Regions from separate parts of the Homo sapiens genome. Here region 1 is linked to region 2. The links are contacts of gene promoters, found by promoter capture Hi-C in blood cells and fetal thymus (Javierre and others, 2016). All regions are on one chromosome and are shown on one strand. The core of a region is centred on a gene start or on the middle of the fragment in contact, and the rest is flanking DNA. Distances in the headings are between cores, read along the strand shown. Region 1 overlaps CCSER2 (coiled-coil serine rich protein 2). Region 2 holds the start of RGR (retinal G protein coupled receptor).

Evidence for each region. The method cuts DNA at HindIII sites, captures the fragments that hold promoters and counts their contacts. A CHiCAGO score of 5 or more calls a contact.
Region 1: a fragment that was not itself captured here is called in contact with the fragment with the promoter of RGR in region 2 in 1 of 17 cell types (total CD8 T cells); the score reaches 5.1 in total CD8 T cells.

What each region holds. Positions count from the first base shown.
Region 1 is chr10:84,395,915-84,400,369 of GRCh38, forward strand. All of the region lies in intron 3 of CCSER2 (coiled-coil serine rich protein 2), which reads left to right. Among named protein-coding and RNA genes, the nearest start is that of CCSER2, 70 kb to the left of the region's middle. The HindIII fragment of the contact is 156 bases long and covers 1,261-1,416 here.
Region 2 is chr10:84,242,778-84,246,964 of GRCh38, forward strand. It overlaps RGR (retinal G protein coupled receptor), which reads left to right and starts at 2,276. Exons shown (of 7, transcript NM_001012720.2): 1 at 2,276-2,392. The coding sequence starts at 2,314. RefSeq lists an enhancer at 2,422-2,921. The HindIII fragment of the contact is 12,009 bases long and covers 1-4,187 here.

The sequences.
Region 1 (4,455 bases), core at 89-2,588, 150 kb after region 2:
GGTGTGTTCGTTGCTACTGAGGTGTAATTACTTTTAGTTATTGTGGCAGACAGAACTGACAATTATATGTATACACACACACTTCTCTTCTATATTTATTTCTGTATCCATTTCCGTATATATTAAAGACCAAGAGCTCACACGGATACCTTTGACTCCAATCAAATGCCACAGAATTTGTTCTAGCCTTTCTTCTTATTTTTAAGCCTTTTCTCAGAAAGTGAGAAACTTGGTTTCTCAACCACAATATATTTTCTTAGTTATTCAACACTGTGTGTGTGTGTGTGTGTGTGTGTGTGTGTGTGTATAAGGATTATAGTATATATTCATACATAGTTATAGATATAGTATATATAGTATATTATATACCATAACTATACTATATTTATACTATATTATATACACACAGTTTCAGAATTGCTAACTTACACCCTATGAAAAAGATTTACTAACTTACAATATTTGTTTAGCATTTTTTTTTTAAACCTTAACCTTACAGAATACAATAAGTACTGTTTTCCAAGTTTACTTACGTTAGTTGTTTTAGTTCTCAATCCTTTCAGCGTGATTGTATTATTCATTTGTAATACTTTTAGGTTCATTTGTTGCTGTTTGTATTTCGTTTTGGGTTCTGCCCACATCGTGGTTTATTTAAAGTACTCATTTATTTCATGTTACTTCATAGAGATCTTCCCTTTTCTTCTTTTTAAAAAAATATTTTATTTTTAAATTTTAACCTATGTATGTATTTGTTTGTTTATTTTGAGACTGGGTTATGAGACTGGCTAATTTTTGTATTTTTGGTAGAGATGGGGTTTCACCATGTTGCCAAGGCTGGTCTTGAACTCCTGGGCTTAAGTGATCGACCCGTCTTGGCCTTCCAAAGTGTCGGGATTACAGGCGTGAGCCACCACACCTGGCCGAGATCATCCTTATTCTTTTTGTACCGCTGTATACTACTTATTTTGTAGATTGTGCATTGTTTATTCAATTACTCTCCCAACAATGGGCATCAAGATTGTTTCCAATATTTTACAGTTATAAACTGCCGTAATGACTATGCTAGTATAGAGCAGTATTATTTTTGTAATTTAGATAAAAAAACACATCTACCACCTTACTTGTGTCCATACCAGCTCCTATTCAGTTGTGTAGAAACTTCTGCATATAAAAGTGCTAGTCAGTATTACTATATGAAAGTTGCTATGCATGGTATTCTATTTTCCTAGAACATTCCAGTGACTTTCTACTCTTACCTAAAGCTTACTGGTAAATCTTAAGTGCATTGATTAATAAATCTCTGGTATTACCATAATCTACTCATAAAATCATCCTATGATATTTTTATTACCACCTCCCCCAAAGTATAATGTCCTTAAGATATGAAATTCTGCAGTAAAACAGAACAAAAAGAAAAGCTTTTAAAAAATGTTACTGAAACTTCATTTGATGTAATATACAAAAATGTGATGGGGCTGTCCTCAGGTTAAATGGGCACTGATGGATGCACTGTAACTTGACTGGTTTGAGGACAGAAAATTGAACCTAAAATAAGGAAATTCTGACTGCTAAAGGAATTGAGGTCACTCAATACATTCATTTTCTCTCATCTAACAAAAAGACTACACATACCACTAATGCACTTGGCATTTTGATTTATTAAATATATATGTTAACTGAAGTCTGCCACCGACTGTTATAATCAGTATAGCTGAAATTACTCATCTGAAGCCTGTGAAGGCTGAAGTAAAAAAGTAAATTTTAAAAGGCTTAAGTAAAGTCCAGTCAAGCAAAACTTGATTTGAGCTTACTGCTGAGGTCTACAACATATTACATTACTGCAACCATTAGAAGTCCCACCAGTCACACCTGACTCTTCTCCTTTTTCAGGTGCTAATGTGCTTCTGTAGTGGCCTATTTCTGTTTCAGCCTTTGTAAGGCATCACAGAAAGGAAGGAACAAATATTTAAATTATAGAAAGTGAATGCAGTAAGTATAGGATTGACTCTAAAACAGTAGAAACAAATAAGCCTAATTATAGCATTTGAGAAACAGGGTGTATTCGTTTTCTCTGGCTGCTGTGACAAATTACCACAAATACAATGGCTTAAAACAACACACTGTTTGTTATCTTACTATCCTCTCTAGCTTACAAGTCAGACACATGTCTCTGCAGGCTAAAATCAAGATGTCAGCAGGGCTAGGTGCCTTCCTGGAGACTCGAGGGAAGAATCCATTTCCCTGTCTTTTCCACCTTCTAAAAACTGCCTTTGGTTCATGACTTCCTTCCTCTGTCTTCAAACCGAGCAACACCGCACCTCTTTGACCATTCTCCTTCTGTCTGTCTTCTGCCTCCCTCTTCCATTCTGAGTGATTATTATACATTGGGCCCCCTCAGATAATCCAGGATAATACCTCTATTTTAAGGTCAGCTGACTGGCAACCATAATTCCCTCTTTGCTATGTAAGCTATCATATTTACAGGGATTATTCTGCTTATCAGGAAAATTATTTCATTTCTCTGAAACTCCTGTTTTTATTGTAGTAGAATTCTTAAAATATTTTGAGAAGCCATAATTTTAGCATGGAGACACGCCAAAATGAAACAATATTTGTTTGTGCCTTTTGAAAGGAGCTACATGCTTTCCTACTCATTTCTTCCTCTTTATTTCTCAGATTTTGAATTTATTCCTGTTTATTTTTAAAGTTCCTGGGTGTTAAGGTAGGTTTGTTCCAGGGAAGGATAGAGAAAAATCTAAGATCATTTCTTGAGAGCAGAAGAGAAATTTGTAAAGAATTGAGCTATAGCTGAAGTCTACCCTCTTTGGTTAATAATTCACAGGGAATACAATGATGAACAGACTTTTTTTTTTAAAGTAATAATTTTGTTTCATAGGGTATTCTTTGTGAAGAATTTATGTAGACATATTCACAGAGCCTTGTTCTGTTTTCTTGGTCTGGGAACCAGTATATTTTAAGGAAGTTTCTTCTGTACAGTGCCTGTATTCTGGTGATGTTTTGTAAGCTTGTTTAAAGTTGTTCACTCTTACCACATCTGGCCATTTGAGTTTTACAGAGAGTTAGAGTCATGGCCTGAGCCTATTTTCCAGAAAGATTTTTTAAATTTAATTTTTATATATTTTGGGAATACAGATGCAGATTTTTCACATGTGTATATTGTGTAGTGGTGAAATCTAGGCTTTTAGCATACCCATCACCTGAATAATGATCATTGTACCTATTGGTAAATTCTAAGCCCTCACCTCCTTCCCATCCTCCTACCTTTTGTAGTTTCCAGTGTCTGTTATTCCACTCTGTATGTCCAGCTGTACCCATTGTTTAGCTCCCACTTATAAGTGAGAGCATGTGGTATGTGACTTTCTGTTTCTGAGTTATTTCACTTATAATAATACCCTCTAGTTCCATGTTACTGTGAAAGACATGATCTCATTCTTTTTTATGGCTGAGTAATATTCCATGGTGTATGTGTATTTCCCACACTTCCAGAAACAGTTTACCTGAAATCTCTCGGAGTAGGAATTTTTGGGTGTCACAATAAGAGTCGGAGATAGGAACACTGGATTAGAAGTCGGGATGAGTGTTAGTCTGGATTTATTTATTTTCACTAAATATGTTTTGGGTACCTACCAGCTAGTAATTTTAAATAAGATAATGGCATTTTTTTAAACCTTCCTGGAGAATTTGTTCCATTATTCTTTTAAATCTGGAAAATGTTCATATTTAATTATTATATCCCCTCCATTGTTTCTGTGCCCCTTTTCTAGAACTTCTAATAATTGGCTGTTATATCTCTGTTGAGCCTCTTTTTCATTTTCTCTTTGTTTTCATTTATTTTTTAAACCTTTGTTCTTTTACCTTTTTTGGCCTTTTTTTTTTTTTTGAGAGATTTCATAGAGTTTATTTTTAAACCAGGCAATCACTTAACCCTTTATGGAAATTTCAAATATATTCACTTGTTATTTTCTGTCTTTTTTTCTTTCTTTCTTTCTTTAAGTAACCATCTTACTGGGCGTTAAGTGGTATTTTATTGTGGTTTTGATTCGCTTAGTCTCAAATGAGGTTGAACTTTTTTGTGTGTTTATTGTCTATTTGTATATCTTTAGAGAAATGTTTTTTCAAGTCTTTTGCCCATTTAACTGGGCTGTTTGTGTTTTTGTTGTTGAGTTGTAAGAGTTGTTTATATTTTCTTGATACCAGATTCTTATCAAATGTGTGAATTGCAAATATTTTCTCCCATTCTGTAGGCTTCTTGATAATGTCCTTTGATATACAAGTTTTTAATTTTTATGAAGTCCAGTTTATCTATTTTTGTTGTCATTGTTTATGCTCTTAATGTCGTATCAAAGAATTCATTACCAGTCCAAAGTAAAAGTCACAAAGACTTATCCTTATGTTTTTGTTTCGTTTTGTTTTTTAAAAAAGTCGGGGTTTTGC
Region 2 (4,187 bases), core at 1,026-3,525:
GGTCTCAAACTCCTGGCCTCAAGCGATCCTCCTACCTCAGTCTCCCAAAGTGCTGGGATTACAGGCCTGAGCCACTGCACCCAGACTAATTTCAATTTTTACTTATTCTCTCCTAACCCTATCTCGCCCCACCATATCTACTCAAGATGCCAGTGGGGACTGACCAGGGATGATTCCCAGCAGTAGACACTCAGTCGACTCATTCATTCATTCTTCACATTTGACCCTGAGGCATTGTTCTCTGGTCCAGCATGCCCTACCTATGTTGTTTGGCTTTTCTAGAAGGTTCCCCAGTCCTTCATGCCTGTGGCTCCAGGCAGGCCTAGACCAGTGAGGTATGACCTGCAAAGATATCTGGGGCCCCAGTGCACACATAAAATGCCTAGCTCGGAGCCAGGTCTGTTTCAACAATACTGGCTTCTCATTCTTTCCTTCCTTCCAATGCAGCCAGTAGGATTTTCTCAGTGCTTCCCAGCTATACTTCCACCTCCCCAAACCCAGCCGTCAGCTTGCCTGTTCCCACATCTCTGCTTCTTCCTCCTTGTGTCTTTTGCCCAAATGAACTTTACCCTTTAATCTTGGCCTTGCCCTGCTTTATCTCCTCTCATGAAGGCTTTTGTGATCTCGAAGGCATGAAAAAAGGACTGACATATGTATTAACCAACACCATAAGGTAGAAATTGAGACAGAAGGCCAGGCAGGGTGGCTCATGACTGTTATCCCAGCATTTTGGGAGTCCAAGGCCAGCAGATCACCTGAGGTCGGGAGTTCAAGACCAGCCTGACCAACATGGAGAAACCCTGTCTCTAATAAAAATACAAAATTAGCCGAGCATGGTGGCACATGCCTGTAATCCCAGCTACTCGGGAGGCTGAGGCAGGAGAATAGCTTGAACTGGGGAGGTAGAGGTTGCGTGAGCCGAGATTGCGCCATTGCACTCCAGCCTGGGCGACAGAGCGAGACTCCATCTCAAAAACAAACAAAAAAACAAAAAAGAAATTGAGAAAGAACAGGGAACGCTCTGGAGGGCGCAGCCATAAGCTCAGCCCTGCAGAGGGATTAGGCTTGGATGTAAGTGAGGACTCATGAGAGGAAAGGCCTGGGAAGTGGGCATTCCTGGAACAGAGTGGGTTGCTCTACCAGGTGAGTCAGAAGATGCCATTGAAAAATGCCTGAGCCTGAGGAATAGGAGATCGGCTTTTGTTCCAGCTCCATCCATAAATTACTGCATGGCCTCAGGCAGATTCTTAACTGTTTTTAGCCACAGTTTCCTCATCTAAAATGGAAAGGATAATGGTATCTAACTCATGGAGTTGTTGTAGGACTCATCAGAAGATCCCCTAGCACAGGGCCTGACCTCACTCAATATTAGCTATGTTGCTGATAGTGCTCTGGAGCTTGGTTTCTTTATCTGAAAATGAACTAAGTTGTCCTAGATCAGTATTTCCTGGTGTAAATTTTATCATGAGCCAGAGCATAACAGTGCATAAAGAGCCAGTGTATCAAGAAGTCATTTGTAGCAGCCAAAGCTCTTAGTGGGGCCGGCAAGGCTGGGCGGGTTCGGGGTCGGAGACTGACAAGACGGCAGGCAGCCCCTCTGTTCTAAGACAGTGTCCTAGGACATTTTTTATGCTCAGGTGCTCTATGGGAGACAGGAAATGCAGCCCTGAGGTTTATATTCGTGATATCTAACCAGGACTTATATAAAGGCCACAGACAAAAGACATTGACATTGCAGAAAAGTAAACGGAAGAGTCCAGTGGTCCCACTCCAAGGCGCATAACTAGTTAGTGGCAGATTCAGAACCAGAACCCCAACCCCATTTTCTGGTCCCAGATGGGGTTCTTCCTCTGACAGCAGGCGACTTCCCAAGCCTCATCCTTTCCCCAGCGCTTTGGAGTATACTCATGTGAGCCTGAGGACACACACACAGGCACCAGGCTTGTTGGGAACAGCTGCGGCTCAAATCCCTCCTCCTGCTCCCCTCCCCTGGTTATGCAACTCTTTTCCAATTAGGCTCTCAGCCACACACCATTTGGATTCCCCGACCTTAATCCTGTGCAATGGGGCTGAAATGAATGAGACAGGGCTCCATTCTGGCTTCACAAAGGCTGCATTGTCCAACTCGTGAATGGGTTCCTTCTGCTTGGGCCAAGAGGACCATTTGCAGCGGGGAGGCATCCAGAAACAGCCCAAGGTCCAACATAATAACCTGCATGTGCCTCCACGCACATGGGATGGCCCTTTAAAAGGGAGGGCCTGGCTGTGGGAAGCCAGAGACAGCTGGGCCACTGGCAGTGAGGGAGAGTGAGGATGGCAGAGACCAGTGCCCTGCCCACTGGCTTCGGGGAGCTCGAGGTGCTGGCTGTGGGGATGGTGCTACTGGTGGAAGGTGAGCCAGGCAGAACCTGGGGTGCAGCGGGGGCCCAGTGGGTTCTGAGGACCCAGGCCACCAGTGTGGAGCTGGCAAGGAGAGGAGAGGTCCCCAAACCCAGCTGGGTGTCCGGTCCCATTGGCTGCCTTCCCCTCTGTGCCCGGACTCGGGGGGTGTTCTGACAATTGAACCTGTGAGGTGCAGCACACTGCCCGCTGGGAGCAGAGAGGAAGCCAGGCAAGGGTCAGGGAGGGAGGGACTTTGAAAGGGGACATCTGCCCAGGAGATGATCAAGAGCCAGGCTTTAGGACTTTTCATGTCCCTCCAGCCGGGAGAAAATTTAATCCACTCCTTGGAAATCCTGCTGAGAATCCCACATAAGATCAGTCCCCCAAAAGGCTCTGGGGACAGACAGCTCTGCCTCCTGCTCTTGTGTGGCTGGAACCAAGTCCCTTCAGCTCTCTGCCCTCAATGCCTTGACATTCCGAATGGGTGGTTGTAAAGATTAAATGGGATAATGGGTATAAAGTGCTAGCCTAAATAGACTCTAGGGTATTTAAGTTCATTCACTCCCATCCTCTCCAGCCCCACCACTATTTTCACTGTGTCTACTCCTATGAGCCCAAGCACTTCACCTCTGGAGGCAACCTGGGTCTGCGAGGTACCTACCTCAACCTAGAATCCCTAAGATGCTCGCTGAGGCCAGAGCTAGAGACAGTGTCAATCCTGAATCTGGGCCAGCCCAAGCTAAATTGATGGAGAACGCAGCTTTGGTTCAAAGCAGACCCAGAGAAATCATCAGCACGTTTTCTCACCTAATGAGAACTGACAATGGAGAGGAAGTGACAGTCATTAGATTGGTCCTGAAGGCTCTGGACACGACTGTCTGGTGGCCCCAGCCCGTGTCTCCCTTTCCTGAGAACCCTACAATCTAGCATCCTTCCAGGTCCTCAAACATGCCATAAAATTTTACCACTTTATTTTTTGGAAGGGGTTTAAATTTACATTTTTATTTCATGTTTAATGACTAGAAATGTCATTATATACACAATGCTTTGGTTTTTATTTTATTTAAAATATGTTTTAAATTTCAATAGCTTTGGGGATACAAGTGATTTTTGTTTACATAGATGAATTACATCGTGGCAAATGCTAGGACTTTAGTGCACTCATCACCCAAGTAGCGTACATTGTGCCTCATTTGTAGGTTTTTTTAATCCCACTCCCTCTCCCACCCTTCCCCTTCTGAGTCTCCAGAGTCCATTGTGTCCTCTGAATGCCTTTGCGTACTCACGGTTTAGCTCCCACTTGTAACTGAGAACAAACAGCATTTGGTTTTCCATTCCTGAGTTACTTCACTTACAATAATGGCCTCCAGCTCCATCCAAATTGCTGTAATAAGACATTATTTCATTCCTTTTTACAGCTATTATTCCATGATGTATATATACTACATTTTCTTTATCCATTCATTGGTCAGTGGGCACTTACATTGATTTCGTATCTTTGCAATTGTGAATTGTGCCTCGGTAAGCATAGATGTGCATGTGTGTTTTTGGCTGGATTAAATGGCAGATCTACTTTTAGTTATTTAAGGAATCTCTATACTGTTTTCCATAGAGGTTGTATTAATTTACATATTCCCACCAGCAGTGCATAAGCATTCCCTTTTTACCACATCCATGGCATTGATCTATTGTTTTTTGACTTTTTAATGATGGTCATTCTTATAGGAGTAAGGTGGTATCTCATTGTACCATAGCATGTCTTTGCACATGCTATTCCCTCCTGGAATGCTCTTCCATGCACTGTC